Regions from separate parts of the Homo sapiens genome. Here region 2 is linked to region 1. Evidence: promoter capture Hi-C in 16 types of primary human blood cells and fetal thymus (Javierre and others, 2016). All regions are on one chromosome and are shown on one strand. Each heading gives the region's core, a stretch centred on a gene start or on the middle of the fragment in contact. The rest is flanking DNA. Distances are from core to core; before and after follow the strand shown. Region 1 holds the start of RAB35 (RAB35, member RAS oncogene family). Region 2 holds the start of RSRC2 (arginine and serine rich coiled-coil 2).

Region 1 (4,559 bases), core at 850-3,349:
GTTACAGTCTGTCACATGCCTACATGTGCCAGGTAATTTACAAACATAACTCTAAAACAACCATTCTGTGAGGAAACGGGGGCTTTGAGATAGTGTGATGTGACTTACCTAAGATCACAAAGCTTTTAAGGGATGGAGGCCAGGATTCCAAAGCTAGCATTGGAACGAAAGTCTTCCCGACACCAGCCCAGGTTGTGAAGATGAGCTAGGAGGACCTACTGCCTCGCTGGCTGGTTAGGGCTGGGCGTGCCTCCCTGGTGGAAGGAAGGTACATACCTTCCTTCTCCCCCTCTATTTCCTAAAACTGCTGAGTCAGAGGATGGCCCTAACCTTCCCGACCAAGGGGGACTTTCTATCGGGAGCACATGAGCAGCTCTTCTCCCTAGCCAGTACCTTCAGATTCCAAGCTCATGTTATTTCGATATCACCACACTGATTCTCAGCTCCCGGAAAAACAACTCAAGGCTTGAGTCAGACACTCCATGTGTTGTTCAATGATCCCGCCTGCAACAATGTTTATTATAACCAAAAAATATAAACAGCATGAATGTCTATTAATAGCGGAGTGGTTAAATAATAGTACATCCGATGGTTATCGGATGGAGTACCATACCACGCAGATGTTAAATGATAAAAGTGTACTGTTAAATAGAAAAAGCAAGGTATGTACATATATGTTTGTACAGGCAAAGGAAATTCACTGGGGGGCACTTATTCATTCAACAAATATGTGTTAAGCATTTTAAGGTTACCTGTGAAACTAACAGGGGTTACCTGTGAGGAGTGCTTCAGAAGGAAAAATAGTAACTTGTACTTTTCAGTAAACTTCTGCACATAATTTTAAGGACGAACATTGTTTTTTTTTTTTGAGACGGAGTTTCGCTCTTGTTGCCCAGAATGGAGTGCAATGGCGAGATCTCAGCTCACTGCAACCTCCGCCTCCCGGGTTCAAGCGATTCTCCCGCCTCAGCCTCCCGGCATTGCTTTTTATAAAGTCAAAAGAAAAGGAAGTTTGATAAAACAAGTAGAACTATCCGATAAATACTCGCCTGGAAAGGGACAGGATTATAAGAAACAGGTAATAAGGAGCTTAAAACCCTCTGCAGTTCTGCAGTGAGGATGGTCGTGGGGGCATACAACTTTCCGTTTCAGGTCAGTTTAGGTAGGGCAGGTGGGAACTCACTCTAAAACGAGAAACCGGGGCTGATGACAAAATGCACACGTTTAGCTTCTGGCGGCCCAGGTCTTCCTAGCCGCAGATTCTGAGACGTGTATCTGCAGGTGGTGTGAAATTGAAGCCGGGGGAGCGGTTGCTTTCGGTCTCCGAGGTGCGCCTTGCACACTGGGTCATTCAGCTCCCAGGCTCGGCTCGGAGCTGGACCACTCCCTCCCCTCCACCAAAGAGGCAATGTGGGCTCCAAGAGGTCACAGCGCTGGGATGGGATTTCGACCCCGCGCTGCCCTCAAAGGCCACCTCCTCGCAGCTCTGCTCCCGCCGGCAGCTCCCGTTCTGTCCAACTCGGAAGCCGCCCGCCGCCCTCGGCGTCCACTCCACAGGCCCGGGGCCGGGGCCAGCTCCGCGGGGGAGGGGTCGGTGCGGAAGGGGCGGGGTACCGGGCCTTCCCCGCGCGACTCTGCCTTCTACGGCCCCGGCCCCTGCCTCTGGAAACCCGGAGCTCGTGCGAGCCCCGCCCCACGGTCGCGGCGTGCCTGTCATTTCCTCTCCGCAGGGCGTGCGGGTCTCGAAGATGAGGGAGCAACAACGTCCACGACCGGGCTTCTCCGGCACCTTGGGCTTCTTTCCGCTGGGACTCGACAGCGGCTCGGCTCCGCAAGCTCTCAGCGCCCAGGGTGGCGGCGACGACGCTCCCCGAGGAGACGCGAGGAAGACGGGCCCGCGCTTGCTGGGACTCCGTCAGGGCGCGTGCGCGACCCGGGCGCGGCCGGCTCAGGCTGCGGCTGCGCAAGGCGGTGCCAGACGCTGCGCCTGCGCAGTGGTGGGGCGGGGCGGGAAGGAGGGAGGCGGTGGTAGCGGCGGCGGCTGCTGAGGAGGAGGAGGGGGAGCGGAGGGAGGTGTTTCTGTCAGTTCCGGCTGTTTGTTCGGGAAGTGGATCCGCCGCTGCCGGAGCAGCCCGAAGGGAGCTGCGGATCGCGAGGCCAGTACCGACCCCGCCCGCCCGCGCGCACCGCCCCCGCCCGCCATGGCCCGGGACTACGACCACCTCTTCAAGCTGCTCATCATCGGCGACAGCGGTGAGGGCCGCAGCGGCCGGAGGCGGCGCGGGCCCTGCCGGGCGCGGCCCGCGGGGGCCTCGGGGCGGCAGGCGGGCGGGGAGGTGCCGGCCCGTGCGGGGCGGGCGGGCGGGGCAGCCCGGCGGTCTGGGCCCCAGGGGTGCGCCGAGGGGCTCCGGACCGCGCCGAGGGGAGGTTGGGGCGCGGGGCGGAGGGGCCAAGCGCGCCGGGTCCAGTCATCGCGCCTGTTCCTGCCTCACGTGTGACCTTGGTCAAGTCGCGCGATCTCTGGAGTTGGAGAGACGTGGGTTCGAGTCTCAGGACTACCACCTGCCTCGCGCTGACCTTGGGCAAGTTGCTTCGCCGTCCTGAGCCTCAGTTCCCTCATCTGAGAAGTGGGGATGTGCCTTGCTGGGTGGTGTGAGGATTCGATGGGATAAAGTAGGAAAAGTGCGTAGCGCCCTACCCGGTAAAGTAAGCTCGAAGTAAATGTTCACTATTGTCATTATCATCAGTATCCTTTATAAGCGTCAGTTTCTTCCCATCTAAAATGAGGACGTTCTCAGAACCTGCCTCATGGGATTGCCGTGAGGTTTAAATGAGGTAAGTCGGATAAAGGGCTTTGCACAGGGTCTGGCATATTCCTGCTGAATTATTATATCCCTGCGTGGTTCAGTTTCCTCATCTGTAAGATGGAATGATAGTTGGATCTGCCTTATGGGGTTGATGTGAGTATTAAGTGAGATTCTGCAGTGTTGCTCACAGCTCCTGGCACATAGTGAGTTGTCACTGTTTGCTGTTACACTACTATATACAGAGGGGTCCTGGGGATGGGACAGCCAAAATTATAAAAGTGCTTTGGCCACACACACACACTGCTTGAGGGCTCCTAGCTCTGATCACTGCTCTAGCTCCAGTGCCTAGAACAGTGCCTGGCACCCAGTACATGCTTAAGACATATTTGCAGAAGGAATTAATGAATATTAAGTGTCCTTCGAAAAGGTAGACTGGTTTCTGGGAAAAGGTGGAGGGTTTTAGAGCTGTTTGGAGTGTGGCAGGTGAGCAGGTTTATGGAGTGACCAAGAGGTCAGGAAGGCAGGCCCCAGAAGGTTTATGGGAGCGAAACTGAGGTGCTGGGGTTATATGATGTTCATGAAAGAGTCTTGGGAGCATGCTCAGTTTGTAGACCAGACCTGAGCTGAGTGTGGGGAGGGATGTCTTATGATTGGAGGCAGAGGCCAGGCTGGTGGTAGAGCCCATGGACTGTTAAGGAAAGGGGATCAAATCAAGTGAGCGGTATGACTTGGGATGTAGGAGTGTTGGGTAGCGATGTCAGAGCTAGGTCAGGGAAGTGGGTGGTTTTGGCCTCCCTTTTAAAGCTGGATGGAGATGTGGTTGGTGGTTTGGATCAGGTGAAGGATGGCTGAGGTTTCCGTGGTTGCTGGAGGAGGGGAGAGGTAAGGGGGAAAGCTGGGGGCTAACCAGGGAGATGGAAGAGTAACTGAGGTTGGGGAAGGAGGTAGAAAGGTGGAGTACTGACTGGTTATGGTTTGAATGAAGGGAAACCAGGCAAGCTCTGGAGTGTTCTCTTGGAGATGGCCTTTGGTATTCTTCAGGGTCTTGAGGCTTCTTCCTTTACATGATTTCCTTGCAGCCCTGGCCTGGGTTCTGAGGGACTGGCACTGGGGCCATTTCTCTCTTTTTGGAGTGACAGCCCGCCGTGGTCAGGAGCCTTTATCCCTCTGCAAGACATCTGGACCTCTGCGTTGATATCCAACAGTGAAAAGCCTAAACTCAGCAGGAAGATGCAGCTTGTTGGCTCTTCTCCTCTGTAAAGCCCAGGGGATGGGTTTGGCCCGCTTTCTCACAGTACATTTTGTGTGATGAATTGATTTTTCTCTCCGAAGTCAGGTGTGGGAGAAGACTCATTGGGTCGAGATTTATGTGGTCTAGCTCCTAGGTCAGCCATGTAGGCGTAGGTTGTGCAGAGGAGATGGATGCTGTGCTCTTTGATTTCTCCCGACATTGAGATCCTCAAAGCTGGGAGATGGTAGCCATGGAAGTCCAGACTAAGCTTTGGCAGCTGAGCCCAGAGACTGACATTACACACTCCCCTGAACTGGGCTCCTTGTGTGAATGCCTCCTTAAGATATGTTGAACGATTTCACAGACGCTTATTCTCACCCGCCCCCTGTGTGATTTGTCAAATAAGGAAACTAAGGCTTAAGGCCGGGCGCGGTGGCTCACGCCTGTAATCCCATCACTTTGGGAGGCCAAGGCGGGCAGATCACCTGAAGACAGGAGTTTGAGACCAACTTGGGCAACAT
Region 2 (5,137 bases), core at 2,270-4,769, 2.4 Mb before region 1:
AAGATATCCTTTGTATCAACTTACACATATTTTTGTATGCATGAAATATCAAGAGGAACTAAGAATCCTTCAGTTGTGAAAATACTGATCCTGACATGATGCAGAGGGTATTCAGACGTGAATTTCTAGCAATCTGAGATTGAATCTTGATTCCCTGAGGAAGTGCTATGTTCATTCACAAAATATTTACTGTGGGCCACTAGCCCTACTAAGCACTCAGTAAAAATTCTGTGAATGAAACAGTCAGTGTAATAATCACTACCTTTTCAGAAGAGATCTTCACTAGCAAATCTACTTGATATAAAGCAGTTCCATGTTCTTTTCTTGAACCGACACTCAGGTACCCACTTCCGGTATCATCATTTGTTAGCAGCTCAATATCATTCCACATGTTTCTGAGACTGTCTTCCTGAGTCAGGAACCACTGTCTTTCCTGAACAACATAAAATTAGACACCATATTATCTTGTTGCATAGAACCTGGTTCCTTGGGAAATGATAAAGCTTACTCACAAAACAAAAACAAAAGTCTAACATTAACATATACAGACATCTTAGTCTTCTTGTTATTGCTGTGGCCACTAAACACTTCGGGCCAATAACATAAATGGAACTAGAGCTATGATGGTTACCAGAGAACAACATATTGGTTTATGCACACAAACCAACAATTCTGATCTTACCAATGTATCTTAGAGCTTCCATTACTTTGTGTGTCTAGTTTGGAATTATACCAAGTTTTCATTAGAAATAAACCTTTAATTATACCAAGTTTTCATTAGAAATAAACCTTTCATTAGAAATAAACCTTTAATAGCAGCAAACAGTGTAGGTTTAGATGCCAGATTGTCAGGGATATCATAGGATGATAAGATTCCAGATGAAGTTCAGAAAAAGTCCATTGATGCTATCATAGTATTATTATACAACAAATAAAAATGATAAGGGGAGGAGAAAAAAATGAATTAGGTTTCTGGATCAAAGACTAAGCTTGAAACCTTATGAGGTTTACCCATCTCAAAAAGCAAAGGTTTACATAAACCATATTACCTGGAGTCTGGGTGGGAAAAGAACACTAAGGATAAAAACAATCCTTGGATCAAGACTGGTAGGGAATGATAATCAAATAATTACAATTGGTTTCATAAGTGCTACTAGAAGTATGTTTCAATATCTATAAAAGGTATAGCACAAGGTAGAAACAATTTCTGACTTGGTGCTCTTTCACAATGACTAGGCAGCTGTCCTTGGGTGATCACTTAATCTTTCTGTTCCTCAATTCTCTAATTTATAAAATAGGAATATACAGACCAGGCCGGCGCGGTGGCTCACACCTGTAATCCCAGAACTTTGGGAGGCTTAGGCAGGTGGATTATCTGAGGTCAGGAGTTTGAGACCAGCCTGGCCAACATGACGAAACCCCCTCTCTACTAAAAACACAAAAAATTAGCCGGGCGTGGTGGTGTGCGCCTGTAATCCCAGCTACTCAGGAGGCTGAGGCTGTAGAATTGCTTGAACCCGGGAGGCGGAGGTTGCAGTAAGTCGAGATCGTGCCACTTGCACTCCAGCTTGGGCAACAAGAGTGAAACTCCGTCTTGGAAAAAAAATATATATATACAGTTTGCCGTCAATATCCATGTGTTCCACATCCCTAGATTGCACCTACAGGCATAGCACATTTACACTGTTACGCAAGATAAGAAATCAAGAGATGATTTAAAGTATACAGGCAGATGTTCCTAGGCTACATGCAAATACTATGCCATTTAATGACAGGGACTTAAGCATCCTAGGGTTTTGGTATCTGTGGGAGGTCCTGGAACCAATCTCCCATGGATACCAATACCAAGGGACTAATTTAGTTGTACCCACCTGAAGGAGTTTTCTATTTTTCACTTCTGGTTTTTTGAGAGACGAGGGTCTCACTATTTTGCCCTGGCTGGCCTTGATCTCCTGGGCTCAAGCAATCCTTCTGCTTCAGCCTCCAAATGTTTTGAGTTTTAAATGTTCACAGAACAATGCTTGGTTGATGGCAAACATTCAATTTTAGGTGTTAGCTAATTTGTTATTGGGCTGAGAATTGAAGATCATAGTTTTATAAATGTTTAAAGAGTTCTTCCTAAGAGCATAAGCAAGGGAACAGAAACAAAACATGTTTGGAGAATAGAGAAGTTTCAGTGGCTGGTGTTTGGGTGGGAGTGAGGAGATGAAGAAGGAGGGACAGGTTGGAATGAATACCTTTATGGGTCTCAATTTCCCACATCTGTGAAATAGAGAAACCGCCCGTAACTGCCATATTTACTTATTCAACAAATGTTTATTGAATACCTATTTACTATGTGCCAGACACCTTTCTAGGAACTGGGAATATAGCTTGAACAGAACACAAAATGTCTTTGCCATTATGAAGTTTATGTTTTTGCGGGAAAAACGGACAAAAATAAAATTGTTAATACGTATCTTGTTATGCTACCTCCACAAAAAAGCAACTGCACAAATAATTACAAAAAGTGCTAAATGATTTGAAGGAAACAGTGATTAAATGGATAAGGTGAGGCGTCGCTGAAGAAGGATTTGTTTGGGAAGGGAAGGAGGTGACATCTGAGCTGAGACCTGAATAACAAGAAGTACGCAAAACTTAGGCGGAACGCGACGTAGGCAGAGGGAACAGAGTGCAAAGACTCGGAGGCTGGGTAGGAAGCGTTTGATGCTGCTGCCGGGTCAAAGCAAAAGCAGAAGACAGTGAGGGAGAGAGCAGTGGAGTCCAATAAAACCTCGACCTCAAGATTGAATTTTATTCTCAGTACAAGGGGTAGAAGGGGAACTCAGCAAACGAGTGGTCTGATTTTATAATTTTGAGATCACTCTGGCGGCGGAATGCAGAACAGATTCGCGAATACGAGAGAATGAGCAAGATGAAACACTTGTCAGTTAGGCCTCCATACTTAAACGCTCTCCGCTGGACATCGCCGCCAGCAAAAACCGACTCCAACCTCTCTCCTGCCAGCGTCAAGGGGAAAACAACAGGAACTGAGCAGAGGCTGCAGCTACTTCGTCCTGAACCCACCCCCAGTTCCCTACACAGCGCAGCTCCCCGTCCTCACCTGCAATTGAAGAAACTAAAGAGGAACACTCAGATATCTGGCCCCTCTTCCTGACTCACACAACCGCCTCTAGTCTTTAGGTTCCATGCCACAGGCTTAAATTGGCGGGAGAACACTAAACCCAACCCCTTTACGGCGGCCGGAAGAGACCAAGATTACTTTAGACTCGAAATAGGAAGTTGCCCCACCCTGAGTTCCGCCCATTCCGTTCTCCCGACTGCGCATTCCGGGGGTGTATTCTTGGCCCCGCCCTCTTCACGGTCTTTACACTCCCCTATGAAAGAACACCCAATCACCGCCTCGAATTGCGTTGTTATAGAAACTTTTGTTACCGCCCCTTTTTCTCCCAGCAAGCTGTGCGACGCGCCGGGCCTCCTCGCCTTTGTGCCATCCGGGTCTCTCGCGCGAGCGATTTAGTCTGAGGCGAAGCTTCGGAGCGGCCGGTACTGTTGAAAGCGACAAGTGGAGGCGCCGCTCTAGCGGCCGGGACTCTGAACTATGGCGGTAGGTACCGAATCTGAGTTTAAAGCCAGGGATATTTTTCTGCTACGTTCCAACAGTGGGTGAACGGCTCCCAGAACCTTGTTCGTGTGTATGTGTGTAGACAAAATGGCGCCGCGGCCTTCTTCTGCGCCCGCCATCATGGCTGCCTGCTGTAGGGAGGGGGAAGTAAGGCGGTGTTGGTGGGGGTGGGGAGCCGCAGGGAGTGCCTTTTTTTTTCCAGAACTTTCCTCCTCTCTTCCCCAACCCTACGTTCCTTTCGCCTCACTGAACTTCCTCCATTTTCGCTTATTCACCCTGGCTAGTGATTTATTCTAAGTTTTTTTTAGGGCCTGAGAATTTGCGGTGGAGAAAGGGGCTGGGGAAGAGAAAGACGATCAGGAGTGGTCTCTGAAAAGTATTGGGTCAAAAAGGCAGTGTCTGTAAAGGGTAGTGTGGGAGAAGAGAGCGACTTGTAGCTATTTTTTTTTTTGTACGCTCAATGAGATGCTTCTAGTTGCATAATTTCAATTAGTGTTCGTCCGTGTAAACCTTATTATTGTGTATTAACGAGCTAGGAAGGTATTGCTGAAAGGGAGTGAAAATTCAACTTAAAAGGTTGTGGAACTACCAATTCTGACTGATGCGCGGTTTCCGAAGTGGCCCGTGATGTAATCAATTTGAAGTCCGAGAAGCGTTACAGTTAAGTCTTGTCACTGACCTTGTTCCTTTAAATTTAAACCCTTCGTTGGCCGGGCGCGGTGGCTCACGCCTGTAATCCCAGCACTTTGGGAGGCCGAGGCGGGCGGATCACGAGGTCAGGAGATCGAGACCATCCCGGCTAAAACGGTGAAACCCTGTCTCTACTAAAAATACAAAAAAATTAGCCGGGCGTAGTGGCGGACGCCTGTAGTCCCAGCTACTTGGGAGGCTGAGGCAGGAGAATGGCGTGAACCCGGGAGGCGGAGCTTGCAGTGAACCGAGATCCCGCCACTGCACTCCAGCCTGGGTGACAGAGCGAGACTCCGTCTCAAAAAAAAAAAAAAAAAAAAAAAAAAAAAAAAAAAAAACTCTTCGTTGACCCCAGAGGAGCTACAGTTCGTAAATTATCTATTCTGAACAATAAGCCTGCGTGTGTATAAGATACCCAATTCTGACGGATCCACATTATTTTGTGCTTACCTCATTTTTATTCCGTTAAAAGGAAAATGTAAAGATTTTGCATTCCTTTTTACTGACTAAAAAATTACATCATTTTCGATAATAATTATGACTCTTAAACATAGTGATAGTTTTAAAGTTTGCTCTTCCTAACGATTGGAATGCCTGGGATTAGGCAGATGATTTTCTTTTTCCCCCATACCCCTCTATTATTTAGGTGATTGAGTTTAAACCCGTTTCTTTTACTGTCTTCCTTTGTTTAGTGTTTTGGGCCTCAGTATACTTAAAGAGTAATACTATTTTTCTTGGGTTGCAGGTTTTTTTGTATTTTTTCGAGACGGAGTTTTGCTCTTGTCGCCCAGGCTGGAGTGCGATGGCGCGATCTTGGCTCAC

What was found. The method cuts DNA at HindIII sites, captures the fragments that hold promoters and counts their contacts. A CHiCAGO score of 5 or more calls a contact.
Region 2: a contact is called between the fragment with the promoter of RSRC2 here and the fragment with the promoter of RAB35 in region 1, in 1 of 17 cell types (total CD8 T cells). The highest score is 5.3, in total CD8 T cells.

Annotation. Positions count from the first base shown.
Region 1 is chr12:120,114,293-120,118,851 of GRCh38, reverse strand. RAB35 (RAB35, member RAS oncogene family) reads left to right here and starts at 2,099. Exons shown (of 6, transcript NM_006861.7): 1 at 2,099-2,253. The coding sequence starts at 2,202. RAB35-AS1 (RAB35 antisense RNA 1) reads right to left here and starts at 1,945. Exons shown (of 1, transcript NR_182302.1): 1 at 1-1,945. RefSeq lists enhancers at 31-80, 121-190, 221-320, 1,324-2,115, 2,116-2,908 and 1 more and silencers at 1,033-1,211, 1,199-1,258, 1,349-1,698, 1,859-2,168, 2,269-2,398. The HindIII fragment of the contact is 4,184 bases long and covers 125-4,308 here.
Region 2 is chr12:122,525,318-122,530,454 of GRCh38, reverse strand. It overlaps RSRC2 (arginine and serine rich coiled-coil 2), which reads left to right and starts at 3,519. Exons shown (of 10, transcript NM_023012.6): 1 at 3,519-3,607. The coding sequence starts at 3,602. KNTC1 (kinetochore associated 1) reads right to left here and starts at 3,206. Exons shown (of 64, transcript NM_014708.6): 1 at 3,104-3,206; 2 at 263-464. The coding sequence starts at 391. RefSeq lists enhancers at 1,173-1,272, 3,380-3,839. The HindIII fragment of the contact is 2,543 bases long and covers 992-3,534 here.